3 separate regions of the Homo sapiens genome follow, and all the other regions are linked to region 1. The links are contacts of gene promoters, found by promoter capture Hi-C in blood cells and fetal thymus (Javierre and others, 2016). All regions are on one chromosome and are shown on one strand. The core of a region is centred on a gene start or on the middle of the fragment in contact, and the rest is flanking DNA. Distances in the headings are between cores, read along the strand shown.

Region 1 (4,963 bases), core at 712-3,211:
AGGTCAGGAGTTTACGAGACCAGCCTGACCAATATGGTGAAACCTCGACTCTACTAAAAATACCAAAAAAAAATTAGCTGGGCGTGGTGGCAGACACCTGTAGTCCCAGCTTCTCAGGGGACTGAGACAGGAGAATTGCTTGAAACCAGGAGGCGGAGGTTGCAGTGAGCCAAGATCGTGCCCAGCCTAAGTGACAGAGGGAGACTCCGTCTAAAAAAAAACCAGTTTACCTGCCTGGAGACCGTGGGGTTTATTCTTCATCATTCTCACCCCAGGGCAAAAAGAGACAACTCTCCATCCACGGTGGCAAGGCTGGGGTTCTGAGTGTGTCCCCTCGAGCACTGCGCTCCGCTAAGGAAAGTGCACGCCCACCCTCCCTTCCTTCTGGGTGACAAGAATCCAGGTGTGCAGCGTCCTCACTAGGTTGCTTCCTCGTGCTTGATACTCCCCGCTGAGCTGCACAGACGCGAAGCCTGCCTTTGCACAGCTCCGTCTCTGACCACTCAGTTATTTATCCATTCACTCAGCAAACACGTTTTCTTGCCTGCTCACTCCAAGTCCACTGCAGACGGACACCCTGCAGCCTGCCATGGACCCACAGATAGATTGTGTTTGGCCCACACCATGTTTTGTTTTGTTTTTGTTTTTGTTTTTGTTTTGTTTTTTTGAGATGGAGTCTCACACTTGTCACCCAGGCTGGAGTGCAATGGTGCAATCTCGGCTCACTGCAACCTCTGCCTCCCGGGTTCAAGCGATTCTCCAGCCTCAGCCTCCCAAGTAGCTGGGATTACAGTCACCTGCCACCATGCCCGGCTAATTTTTTGTATTTTTAGTAGAGACAGGGTTTCACCATGTTGGCCAGGCTGGTCTCGAACTCCTAACCTTGTAATCTCCCCACTCAGTCTCCCAAAGTGCTGGGATTACAGACGTGAGCCACCATTAAAATTTTGAATTAATTGCCAAAGTTGAAAAGTGTGGAAATTGCAAGAAAAATTCTGATTTTTGGATTTCTCTTGAATAATTTAAAAAAACCCAAAAATCTCACCATCCCATGTGACCACGTTCTCTGGCAGCCCCTTCCCGAGGTGACACAGGCCTGGCTGCCCCCTGCTGGTCCCTTCAGGCAGTTCACCTTCACTCCCTGTGACTGATGGACAATAACAAAACGAGTGTTTAGCATTAGCCATGTGCCAGTTTCTAAGTGTGTCAGACATATTGACTCACATCAGCCTCACAATGACAGTGTGGTAGATGCTATGATGCCCATTTATTCAAGAAAGACTTGCTGGGGGCCCAAGCCTATCAGGTTCTGGCAATGGAAATGCATCCGGGAACAACACAGACAAAATCCCATCCTTCACGGAGCTTTCATTCCGGTGAGGGGACATGCAGCGTGCCGATGATGGTGGGGGTTGTGCTATTATAGATAGAGGGTCAGTATAGGCCTGGCTGAGCAGGTGACATTTAAGCAGAGACATGACTGCAGTGAAGGTTTAGAAGAGTGTCCCAGGTGGAAAGAGGTGAAGAAACAAGCCTGGGGCCACACAGCTAGTTAAGTAGCCAAGCTGGGACTTGAACCCATGCTGGCCCCAGAGTCTGTGCTCCTAACCATTGCATTCTAGGGCTTGATATGAGATGCCAGCCCCGCCCCGAGATGCTCAGAGTTAGTGAGGAAGAGAAACAGGGAACATGGCTGCTGTTAGAGGGCTGGGGCTGGGGGTGCCGGAGGCCCCAGCTCTGAGGGTTCCAACCTCCTGTCCTGTTCTAGTATCGTCCCGGGAGGCCGAGATGAATTGCCTGCCTGCCCTGGGCTCTTTATTTTAATCTCACTAGGGTTCTGGGAGCACCCCCCCCCACCGCTCCCGCCCTCCACAAAGCTCCTGGGCCCCTCCTCCCTTCAAGGATTGCGAAGAACTGGTCGCAAATCCTCCTAAGCCACCAGCATCTCGGTCTTCAGCTCACACCAGCCTTGAGCCCAGCCTGCGGCCAGGGGACCACGCACGTCCCACCCACCCAGCGACTCCCCAGCCGCTGCCCACTCTTCCTCACTCATGGGGAACAGCAAAAGTGGGGCCCTGTCCAAGGAGATCCTGGAGGAGCTGCAGCTGAACACCAAGTTCTCGGAGGAGGAGCTGTGCTCCTGGTACCAGTCCTTCCTGAAGGACTGTCCCACCGGCCGCATCACCCAGCAGCAGTTCCAGAGCATCTACGCCAAGTTCTTCCCCGACACCGACCCCAAGGCCTACGCCCAGCATGTGTTCCGCAGCTTCGATTCCAACCTCGACGGCACCCTGGACTTCAAGGAGTACGTCATCGCCCTGCACATGACCACCGCGGGCAAGACCAACCAGAAGCTGGAGTGGGCCTTCTCCCTCTACGACGTGGACGGTAACGGGACCATCAGCAAGAATGAAGTGCTGGAGATCGTCATGGTCAGTCTCCCCTCTCCCCTTCTGGCTGGGCGGTGCCGGGGTCGCTCCGGGCTGGGGGTCCCCTGCTGCAGCTGCTGCAGAGGGAGTGGATCTGTGGGTGGAGCGGGGGATGCGGGCCACTGGCTCTGAGAGCGTGGTGCTCCGAGATGCTGATATTGATAGAGGGGTGGGCACTTGCCCACAGCTTCGTTGTCTTCCCGGAGCAGAATCTGAGTGTTTCCTAATACAGCCATGTTATGCTTGGCTTCACGATGTTTGGGTCAACAACGGACGATATAGACCACTGTGGTCCCATAAGATTGTAATGGAGCTGAAAAATTCCTACTGCCTAGTGACGTCATAGCACAGTTACTTTATTTTTCAAATGCATTTAGTGTAGCCTAAGTGTATCCGTAAAGTCTGTAGTTGTGTACGGTAATGTCCTAGTTCTTCACATTCACTCACTACTCACTCACTGACTCACCCAGAGCAACTCCCAGTCCTGCAAGCTCCACTCATGGTGAGTGCCCTAGACAGGTCTACCATTTTGTATCTTGGTTTTTTATTTTTTATTTTTTTGAGATGGAGTCTCACTCTGTAGCCCAGAGCTGGAGTGCAATAGTGCGATCTTGGCTCACTGCAACCTCTGCCTCCCGAGTTCAAGCAATTCTCCTGTCTCAGCCTCCCGAGTAGCTGGGATTACAGGTGTGCACCACTATGCCTAGCTAATTTTTGTATTTTTAGTAGAGACGGGGTTTCACCATGTTGGTCAGGCTGGTCTCAAACTCCCGACCTCCAGCGATCCGCCAGCCTCAGCCTCCCAAAGTGCTGGGATTTACAGGCATGAGCCACTGTGCCCGGCCCATTTTTTATCTTTATACTGTATTTTTACTGCATGATTTCTATGTTTAGCTATGTTTAGATGCACAAATACTTACCATCGTGTGACAACTGCCTGCAACATTCAGGACAGTCACGTGCTGCACAGGTTTGTAGCCTAGGAGCAAAAGGCTGGACCATGGAGCTCAGGGATGTAGTCGGCTCTACCATCTGTGTTCGTGCAAGGATGCTCTATGATGTTCCCACATAGAAGTTGCCTTAAGATGTGTTTCTCGGAATGTATTCCTGTCTCTGAGCGACACGTGACTATATTTACATTTTTTCTTTCTCTCCATCCTTTGTTTCTTCCTTCCTTTATTAAAATGTCCTTTGAAATTTTCAGCAGTACACATTCAAGTTGAATCACTGTTCATTCTAAACACACAATATGCTTCTAATATAAAGTAGAAAGAGGTCAAAGTTGGGGGCATGAACTCTGAGTTCTAGTCCTCATGTTCTCCCCAGCGCGGGGCGGATCATGGCACCACGCATGAGCCCCCGCTTCCCACGCGCGGCGTGGCTCCCCGGCTCCTGACAGTTTCCCTGTGAGGCGCACAGGCTTCCATATGGTTCCCAACACGCCTTCTCCCCTGTCCATACTGTCCTCCTGTCAGATCCTTTGTTGTGAAAGTAATGGCAAAAACCATAATTACTTTTCCACTAACCTCGTAGGTGTCTTGAAAATGGTTTATCTGATATAAAAGTAACTCATGAAATTTAGAAACCTAGGCAAAAGAGACTAACAATTGCCTCTAATTCCAACATCCAGGGAAAACTTTTCTTAGTATATCAGTATATACCTTTTCAGTCTTTTACCTATATAATTTTAAATAATGTTAAAGCTATGACATATTCACATACGATTTTTTATCATACATTTTTCAGTTACTCTTTTATCATGAGTGCTTTCCATATCATTACATATTCTTCCAAAACACTTTTTTTTTTTCTTCAGACAGAGTTTTGCTCTTGTCGCCCAGGCTGGAGTGCAGTGGCGTGATCTCAGCTCACTGCAACCTCCCCCTCCTGGGTTTGAGCAATTCTCCTGCCTCAGCCTCACGAGTAGCTGGGATTACAGGCACCTGCCCAGCTAATTTTTGTATTTTAGTAGAGACGGGGTTTCACCATGTTGGCCAGGCTGGTCTCGAACTCCTGACCTCAGGTGATCTGCCCGCCTCGGCCTCCCAAAGTGCTGGGATTACAGGCGTGAGCTTCCGCACCCAACCTCTTCCAAAACTCTTTTAATAGCTGCTTGGAATTCTGGCTTATGGAAATGTGGAAATTATTGAACATTCCTATGTTTTTGGACATTAGGTTGTTTCCATTTCTTTCCTATTATACCAGTTCTAATTTCCTTCATTTGATTTTTTTTTAATTTATTCTTTTTCAGTCCCCCTGCCCCTGCCACTTACCTTATTCTTCTAATTCCATTCCTGTTAGTAGAGACTATTGTTTAGATGTTAATAACTTTGTGTGCATTGGCAATCATGCTTTCATTTGCATGATGACAAATGCACAAAAATCTTCCACAGTTATTAGGAGAAATCATAAATAAAACAGCAGAGCATGCAGCTTGTGGTCCATGGGCTTATCCTCAATGCTCAGCTCGGGCCTCCCATTCTGGCAGGCATGTGTCTCTCTCATTGTTATCTTGGCACAGCCTGCAGAGAAAG
Region 2 (4,963 bases), core at 750-3,249, 340 kb before region 1:
GTAACTCAGGATAGTTACGCCAGTTGAGTAAGAAAGGGAATTGCTTGATGGGAGTTAGAGTGGCTGCGGCTCTGAAAACGTGGCCACTAGCCTTTGAAGGTCCACTGGGCTTAGGACCTTGGACAGAGACACATCACCTGGGCCACGACTTATACTGAGCATGACATCACAGCAGAATCCTACCTGGGACATCACCTAGGTAGAGCCAATCAAGCAACCAAATAACACTGAGGACCCAGTCAGATAGAGAAACGTGGCCTGGCCAAGAAAGGAGAGGTCTCCCTTCTCCACTTCCCACTAGGGGACACTTGGAGCAGCTATTGAGGGGCTGCAAGGAGGAAGAGAAGAGACAGCAAAGGACAAAGCTCTCCTCTGATGCCCAAGCTCGGAGTGGGGTTCTGAACCAGACAGTGGTGGAGGATAAAAATACCTGAACGGCGTGAAATGTTTACTCGAAATGAAACTATTTTAAACTGGAAATGACTGGACAGGGCTGGTATTTATAAGACTGGGCTAACTTCAGTTTTTCCGCTGCTGAGTGTGAAAAGGGATTTTTTAGCAAAAAGGAAGTGAGTTACAAAAATAACGCAAACTTCTTGTTGGCACATGGCTAAGTGGGGCCTGTTCAATTAAAGCAGTTAAATAAATAAATAAGCAATGAGACTTGAGCTGTGTGCTCCACCTCCTCTTGAATGCTAAGCTGATCAGAGGCCTCTGTGATCAGAGTGGCAGCTGCACTCCTCAAGCCCTTTGACAATCACAAATGCAGACATTTTTTGTGTAGGAATCTCCTGCCTCTTGCAAATACTATTCCTTCTTAAAGTCTAGACCAGCTACATTCAATGGAACTTTTTGTGATGGTGAAAATATCTTATATCAGCCAGGCATGGTGGCTCATGCCTGTAATCCTAGCACTTTGGGAGGCAGAAGCAGGAGAATTACTTGAGTCCAGGAGTTTGGGGCCAGCCTGGGCAACACAGTGAGATCTCATCTCTATAAAAAATAAACAAAATTAGCCAGGCATGGTGGTGCATGCCTGTGTAGTCCCATATACTCAGGAGGCTGAGGTGGGAGGATTGCTTGAGCCCCAGGAAGTCGAGGCTACATTGAACCATGATCATGCCACTGCACTCCAGCGTGGGCGACAGAACGAGACCCTGTCTCAAAAAAAGAAAAAAGACAGAATAAAATAAAATAAAATATCTTATATCTCCACTATCTAATATGATAGCCACAAGCCACATGTGGTTATTTAGGGACTGAATTTTAAATGTTATTTAATTTTCATTAGTTTTGATGTAAATAGTGACATATGACTGGTGCCACTACGTGGAACAATACAGTTCTAGGTGGAATTGTACATCTTTCTTTCTACTGAACTTCTGGAAATCTGGTTTCCTCATTGTGCAGTGCAGCGTTTTCTGTTTGTTTGCTACTGCAAACTCCAAAGTGACAGGGTCACTTTGGCTCAAAGCTTCTAATACTTCCACATCACCCACCAATTCTTCCGTAAGTATCCTCAGAACCAAATTTAGAATAACATTTACAATAATGTTTACATCTGGAAAGTTCGAGCACAGATTGGATACCTCAGAATATTAAGGAATAACTAAAATTACATATTGATATATTTACAGATAAAATGGTACAATGTCTGCAATTTGCTTTAGATAATAGAGTGAGGAGTGGATAGAGGAAACAAGACTGTTTGGTAATTGTTGAAGCTGTGATAGGTCCATAGGCATCCCTTAGAGTAGTCTACTTTACATAAGTATAAATATTTTAATTTTTAAAATTTAAGAGTTTTTGACAAAATGGGAAATTGCCTATATTATAAAATTAAGTGAAAGGGAAAAACAGGCTACAAAATTATAAATATACACTATAACAAGGAATTTATGTAGGTGGAAGCACAAATACAGAATGTAGTATAGTGGTTAAGAGCCCAGATGGCTTAGTTCAAATCCTGGCTCTAGCACCAACTTGGCTCTGTGATCTCAGAGAATTTTTTTTTAGCTTTACTAAACCTCAGTCTTCTTATCCACAAACTAAGGATCATACAAGAATGCACCTCTTAATGCTGTAGAGATTAAATGAGCCTATTTATTAAATACTTAGCCAACATCCGGCACACAGTACAAATCCAATTGCTTATCTTTGAGGAATAGATGTATGAGTGTCACCACTGTATTATCGAATCTTCCACCAGAAGTATGTCTTTCTTTTATGTTCAAGGGAAAAATATAGTTTTTAAAAGAAAGGAAAACAGAACAGCTTACTCCATTGCTACTTCCGTGTTCTGAGAAACTGTTAGCAAAGTAAGATAATAATTTATCAGATGTTCTAAACTTTAGCAAAAGAAGAATTCCAGCTTATGTCTGCATAACTGGAATTCCTAATGAAACTCTTTCATGGCTTGGGGATGTGTGTTAGGAAAGCATCTTCTCCAGGCTTCCTCTGGCCCCATGTTGGGTGGAGTCTTGTTTCTGTGGTTGTCCTCCCTATTCCTGACCCCAAAGCTTTCCATACTGACAGGCAGACCACTTAGTAACTTCCTCACAGATAATGCTATACAATATTCCCTTTCTATTGGACTTGCATCTTTCAAATAAAATACATCCTTCCATTGTCACTTTCCAGTTATGATTCCCCTCCTAAGTAGCAATGATGCTAATGAAATTATAGCTTTCTTCTTCTTTCAGTAGTATGAACATCTTACCTTATCCATTTCCCCCACACCCTTTGCACTGGGAGATGGATGTGTAAGACCATAAATAAAGTTCCCATCCTGTTGCCTTTATTTTTGCCCAAGAATAACTGGGCACTGTATCTTTCTTTTCTTTTTTTTCTTTTCCTCTTTCTTTCTTTCTTTCCTTCTTCCTTCCTTCCTTTCTTTCTTCCTTTCTTTCTTCTTTCTCTTTCTTTCTTTCACAGAGTTTTGCTCTTGTTGCCAAGGCTGGAATGTAGTAGCATGATCTGGGCTCACTGCAACCTCTGCCTCCCCGGTTCAAGCAATTCTCCTGCCTCAGCCTCCCGAGTAGCTGGGACCTACAGGCACCCACCACCACACCTAGCTAATTTTTTGTATTTTTAGTGGAGATGGGGTTTCACCATGTTGGCCAGGCTGGTCTCGAACTCCTGACCTCAAGTGATCCACCCGACTCGGCCTCCCAAAGTGCTGAGATTACGGGCATAAGCCACCGCGCCTGACTCATCCTGTTTCTTTCTAATCACAAAGACTGTTTTACATTTTCTCAACTATCATTGTACATTACAGTAACCAAACTGAAATTACATTAAACCAGATTGATGGGAGAGAGAGAATTTAAAGGTATAGATTCACATAACTAAAAAGTCCAAGAGGTACGGTTAGCTTCAGACATGGCTAAATCCAAGTGCCCTAATGTTTTCAGGAATTTCTGTCTCTCCATCATTAGACTCAGCTTTCTGCTGTATTCATTTCATTCTCAGTCTCATTCGAGCTCGGTCTCACGCTAGCTATCATCGTAACAACTCTAAGAAAGCATATCTCATTCCTAATCATTTGAGCAAAGTCCCAGAGAAAACTCTCATTGGTCCAGGCTGAGTCACGTGTCCACCTCTGAATAAATCACTGAGATTTTGATAGACTCTTACCAAGTTGCATATTCACCCATGAAGCCAAAGGATGTGTCGACCCTCTTCAGCTGCATAGACTATGAAAATGCCTGGTTTTCCTTCAGAAATAAAGAGGTTATTAAAAGAAGATGGCAAAAGAATGCTGAGCAGACAAAAACAACAGCTGTTTACTATGTAGCCCACAGAAATCTTTTAAGTGTCCTTTGATGTCATTGGGTAATCTGCCCAGCACATTCTTCCCCGACTTTGCGGTACTCTCTGTGTTTTGCCAGTAGCCTTGTACTCTAGCATCTTGGGCTCTGGCCCAGGAAATGAAATCCTCACCAACACCATCAACATCTTTTGCTCACCAGCTGCTCACTCCCAACATCTTTTCTCTTCTCCCCAAAGTCGCAGCCATCAGCCAGATGAAAAGATGGAACGGCCCCAAATCCTTCAATGTCCTTCTCAGAACTTTAAAACTTCCAGACACATATTTCAAATTTATTTGGACTGTGCCATTTATCCGCACATGAGTCAGCAGAAGTGGGTAATGGCTAGAGACTCAGTGCAAATATTCCATCACCTCACATCCAGAAACATGGTGCCCCTCTGAGCATGCCCCAGCTGGTCTCAGGAAAGAGTCAATGCATTCTGGGAAAGCACAAAGGTTGGGGTTTTGTTGTTGTTGTTGTTGTTGTTGTTTTCTACCTGGCTGTGGCTGCTTCTTCCATATGTATACATCACAGTACCTGGCAAAATATTGAGGACATATGAGAGGTTCAATGATGTATGTCCTGTTTCCACTTTGCCCTTTCCAAGTGCCCTTAAGAAACAAACAAACAGGCTGGGCGTGGTGGCTCATGCCTGTAACCCCAGCACTTTGGGAGACCAAGGCGGGTGGATCACCTGAGGTCAGGAGTTCGAGACCAGCCTGGCCAACTTGGCAAAACCCCGTCTCTACTGAAAATACAAAAATTAGCTGGGCATGGTGGCTGGCACCTGTAGTCCCAGCTACTTGGGAGGCTGAGGCAGGAAAATCATTTGAACCCAGGAGTCGGAGGTTGCAGTGAGCTGAAATTGCGTCACTGCACTCCAGCCTGGGAGACAGAGCGACAGAGCGACACTCCATCTCAAAAAAAAAAGAAAGAAAAGAAAGGAAAAAAGAAACAAACAAACAAAACAGAGCAAAACAAAATAAAGTTAAAAACTCAGCAGAAGTGGCCAGGCGCAGTGGCTCACACCTATAATCGCAGCACTTTGGGAGGCCAAGGTGGGCGGATCACGAGGTCAGGAGATCGAAACCATCCTGGCCAACATGATGAAACCCTATCTCTACTAAAAATATGAAAATTAGCTGGGCGTG
Region 3 (4,963 bases), core at 1,299-3,798, 330 kb before region 1:
GACACTTCCAGAATCTTCCCCAAGCCCAGTTAGATGCCTGGCCCTCCTGGAGGCGCTCTTCATACCCTGCACTTCCCCCACCATAGTGCTCAACACGCTGTTTCTTTTTTTTTTTTTTTTGAGACGGAGTCTCACTCTGTCGCCCAGGCTGGAGTGCAGTGGCGCAATCTCGACTCACTGCAAGCTCCGCCTCTGGAGTTCACGCCATTCTCCTGCCTGAGCCTCCCGAGTAGCTGGGACTACAGGTGCCCGCCACCATGCCTGGCTAATTTTTTTTTTGTATTTTTAGTAGAGACGGGGTTTCACCGTCAACACGCTGTTTCTAAGCTCCTCTCCCTTGTCAGGCAATCTGTTGACACGGACCATGCCAGCCAGAGCCTGGCACACAGTAGGAGGTTGAGAAGAGACTTTTGTCCACAGCTGGTTGTGCACCTTGCACTGTTTCTCCCCAAGCTCTGGGACACTCCAATGGGCACCAGCAGCTGCTTTGCTCCAGGCATCGTCCCAGGTCTGCTCTGCTCTGCGCCGAAGTGCTGAGGTTGCTTTTGTTCTCCAGGGAGGTTTAGGAAGGTCCCCCTCTCCTCACTGCTCTACTCCCTTGGCCCTGAGGTCACAGTCAAAGTGCTTCTGTTCCTCAGGGACAGGGCCAAGTAACAGCCAACAAGCCACACCCAAAACCTTCAGGCCGTGTGGCTGAGCCCAGCTCCTTGTGCCAGGCTCGTATTCTCTCCCAAGTGCCCTGCGGTCCATACTTGGGGACTTCCTTCCAGTAGCCTCCCTGCCCAGTTAACAAAGCATAAGATAAACCCTGGTTGTGACCACAGCTTACCACCCGCCTCTCTGGAGAAAATCTGTCAGACCCCATGGAAAGTGATGGGCACAAATCAGTCCTGATATGGGCCCAGGTCACTGACCTTGTGGTCCAGGTAAGCCTGAGCCTTGAGGCCTCCACTCCACAACAATCATCACAATATGAACGTGTAAATAAATTTAGGAACAGTTTAGGAGATCTCATGACTTTATGGAAATGTTTCACAAACATACTCATCACTAAGATACACAGGTAGAAACTCAAATCCACTTGAGTTCGAGGTGAGAATCAGAACAAACAAGACCTGAGAAGTGAGATAGGCATCCACCTTTGACCTAGTTTGAAGACTCAACCTGCTCTGACTCAGGTGTGGATATCTTTGTGCCAACTCACTAGTTGCATAGCCTTGAGCTAAAGTGGATGAAATTTTCTGTGCCTCAATTTCCTTGTCTATAAAACAAGGCTGGCTGGGTGCGGTGGCTCATGCCTGTAATCCCAACACTTCGGGAGGCCAAGGCAGGTGGATCACCTGAGGTCAGACGTTTGAGACCAACAAGGAGAAACCCCGTCTCTACCAAAAATACAAAATTAGCTGGCTGTGGTGGTGCATGCCTGTAATCCCATCTACTCGGGAGGCTGAGGCAGGAGAATCGCTTGAACCTGGGAGGCGGAGGTTGCAGTGAGCCGAGATCACACCACTGCACTCCAGCCTGGGCAACGAGAGCGAAACTCAGTCTCAAAAAAATAAAACAAGGCTAATAGTAGTACTTTCTCAAGGATTGTTGAGAGGATGAAATGAGGTGATCCCTCTAAAGGTCTACAAACCATAGCTGGCACACAGCTGGTGCTCAATGAATGTTACTCCATTGACCATGGGGCCCATCACGGTAGACACTCCACATCCATTACAGGGGCAGACCCAGTGTGTTTCCCACCCCAATGTCATTTTTCTCCCCCTTTTTCCCTGCTGCTAGAGGTGGCTCTTCATGCTAGCTTTTGGAAATGCTGGGTATTTATTTCCCCAGGCTCCTTCCCAGCAAAAAATTGCCATGGTTCAGTTCTGGCCAATGAGATGTAACAGAAAATGTGTCGGGGGAGCAATGTTCTCCTCCTTGATAAGAGAGATGTGTGGAAAAAACTCTTCTCCTTTCATGCTTTGGGCACTCTGGTGTGAAGACCTGATGCTTGGAGCTGATGCAACCATCTTGCCACCATGAGGGAGGAGCCACATGGGTTGCAGAGACTTAGACTCAATGCCTTGATATTACTCATCACTGATGTCATTGATCCTACCCTGGAATCACTTACCTTCTGCTTTCTCATTAGCTAGAACAACTCAATACATTTTATTTTACTTTATTATTATTTTGAGACAGTCTTACTCTGTTGCCTAGGCTGGAGTGCACTGGTGCCATTTCGGCTCACTGCAACCTCTACCTCCTAGGTTCAAGAGATTCTCATACTCGGCCTCCCGAGTAGCTGAGACTACAGGCATGTGACACCATGCCCCAGCTAATTTTGTGTGTGTGTGTGTGTGTGTGTGTGTGTGTGTGTGTGTGTGTGTGTGTTAGGGACTGGATTTCACCATGTTGGCCAGGCTGGTCTCCAACTCCTGACCTCAGGTGATCCGCCCACCTTGGCCTCCCAAAGTGCTGGTATTACAGGCATGAGCTACCGTGCTCAGCCAATACATTATATTTTAAAGCAACTATAAATCCCACTGTCTGTTACAACCAAGAGTATCTTAATTAGTATCATAAGCTAAGGAATCCTTACAACCTAACCCTCTTATGCAAGTATTGCTCCAATTTTACAGGTGAAGAAGCCGAAAGCAATGTGGCAGGAGTTTTGAAGATATATTACCTAATTTAATCCTCATTAAAACTCTGGAGGTAGGTTTTATCTCCATTTCAAATTTGTGTCCACATTTAGGAGATTCAATATTGCCCAGTCTCACACAATGTATACATGGACTAGATAGGACTTCTACCCAGATCTTCCAATTCTAAATAGAATGTTATTCCCAACATTCTTTGGTACTTTGATTCAGCATCAAAATCCTTTTGGACATTTTACTTCACTGCTGATGTCGAATAAATAAAAATTCAGCCACTCTAATTTAGGTCATGTCAACCTGAACATAATTATGTTCATTGCTTAGAAAGTGCATTTGCTAACGAAATATTAGTCATAGTGAGAAAGAATGGTGGCTACAGCTGGATGAAATTCACAGCCCTAAGACCCATGTGCCAATGTATATTTCTGTCTTTAGGCGCTCAGAGAATTTATATTCCCCATCCGCACTTCAACTGGTAATTGCCCAGCGTCTGTTCTTTTTAAGTCTTTATTATATTTTATTCTCTCCCAGATGTTGAGTTGGGCTGCAGTGATTTCAGGATTTCAGTGAGAGGTCCAGCTGCTGGGTTTGGGAAGTATCCATGCTTTGTTCCTTTTCAGTCCTTCAACTTGAATTTATGATGAGGTTTTGATGAATGGTTCCCTTCTCCCAGCCCTGCCCTCTTTGCATGTGTCTGCGTCTGTGATATCTTTGGTTTAATTATGCGGATGTGTCTCTTGTTAGAAAATTTATGTGATGACTGTTGTCAAGATCCAGGAGCCAGAACCAGGGGTTTGTGATCTAAACACCCTTGACTCCACTCTGCAGTACATCCAAAGTGAAGCTGGGAAGACCAGGTAGCTTATTAATTTAAGGCTCTATCAGGTTGAGAGTTTGAGAAAGTGTCAGCCCTGCAGTGAATTGCAGACATATGATGGGAACCAAGGATTTGAAGGACCAAGGCAAGATTAGGGGCAGAGGTAAGGGAGCATGGATAGAGATGAATGGGAGAGAGAAGATGGGGATGGATGGGTGAGTGTATTTATGGTATTCGCATAGATAGAACCATACAATTTGGACCTTTGCCATCCAGAGACTGCTGGCACCATCCAATAAACTTGGTTAAATTCACTCACGTCTTGACTTTCCAACTCAATTTTTTTTTCAAAAATAGAGGCAGGGTCTCTCTATATTGACCAGGATGGTCTTGAGCTCTGGACTTAAGTGATCCTCCCACCTTGGCCTCTCAAAGCACTGGGATTACAAGCATGAGCCATCATGCCCGGCCTCTAACTAGATCATACATTCTTTGAATTCAAATCTATTCTAGTTATTTCTTGCTGTGTAACAAATCACCCCCAAATTCAGTGGCTTAATGCAACAAAAGTCATTTCACTATCTGTCATTGTTTCTGTGGGTCAGGAATTTGGGACAGTCTCATCTGGACAGTTCTGGCCAGTGGTCTCATTTAATTGCAACCAGACAGTGGTTGAAGCAGCTGAAGACTGGCAGGACATCTTTCTTCAAGTAGGTTCAGGGCTTCTCTATCTAGGGGAGTTTGAGCTTCCTCACAGCATGGCGGACTTGTGGGCAGCCAGACTGCCTCCATGGCCGCAAACTTCAGAAGGGAGTATTCCAAAGTAAGGGGACAGTGGCATTGTTTGCTATGACCTTTCTGCTATATTTTATTGGTCAAAACAGGTGCAAAAGCTCACTTAATTTCAAAGGAAAGGGACATAGACGGCACCTCTTGATGGAAGGAATGTAAAGGTTACGTTGTAACAAGTGCTCCTAGGATGGGAGAGCCCTTGGTGGCCATATTGGAATACATGCCTTCACAAGACTTAACCTTTCCTATCTGTTTATTGATTATTCATTTTTTTTACCTCTCCCATAGTTCCTATCATTGAGCTACCATTACCAGAAGTGCTCTATGGGTGCTGACAACCTAATGCAATTCAATGCAACAAATTATTTATTGATTCATTTTACAAATTGCTCATTGAGCACATACTAGTGCCAGGTACTGAATCAGGCACAGGGGATACCATAGTGGGCAATTCTGCCTGTCCTCATGGATCCTATCACCTACTGAAAGAGATGTGCCACTGATTATTGAATAATCAAAGAAATATTATATGTTAGGACTGTATTAATCTGTTCTTATGCTGCTAATAAAGACATACCCAAGACTGGGTACTTTATAAAAGAAAGAGGTTTAATGGACTCACAGTTCCACATGGCTGAGGAGGCCTCACAATCATGGCAGAGAGCAAAGGAGAAGCAAAGGCAGGTCTTACAAGGCAGCCGGCAAG

What was found. Contacts are between HindIII fragments. The CHiCAGO score rates a contact against its expected background, and 5 or more counts as called.
Region 2: a contact is called between a fragment that was not itself captured here and the fragment with the promoter of RCVRN in region 1, in 4 of 17 cell types (monocytes, neutrophils, M0 macrophages and 1 more). The highest score is 11.8, in monocytes.
Region 3: a fragment that was not itself captured here is called in contact with the fragment with the promoter of RCVRN in region 1 in 2 of 17 cell types (neutrophils and monocytes); the score reaches 12.2 in neutrophils.

What each region holds. Positions count from the first base shown.
Region 1 is chr17:9,902,269-9,907,231 of GRCh38, reverse strand. It overlaps RCVRN (recoverin), which reads left to right and starts at 1,961. Exons shown (of 3, transcript NM_002903.3): 1 at 1,961-2,432. The coding sequence starts at 2,052. The HindIII fragment of the contact is 11,305 bases long and covers 1-4,963 here.
Region 2 is chr17:10,246,937-10,251,899 of GRCh38, reverse strand. No RefSeq gene overlaps it. Among named protein-coding and RNA genes, the nearest start is that of GAS7, 51 kb to the right of the region's middle. RefSeq lists a silencer at 436-485. The HindIII fragment of the contact is 1,045 bases long and covers 1,477-2,521 here.
Region 3 is chr17:10,230,437-10,235,399 of GRCh38, reverse strand. No RefSeq gene overlaps it. Among named protein-coding and RNA genes, the nearest start is that of GAS7, 34 kb to the right of the region's middle. The HindIII fragment of the contact is 8,093 bases long and covers 1-4,963 here.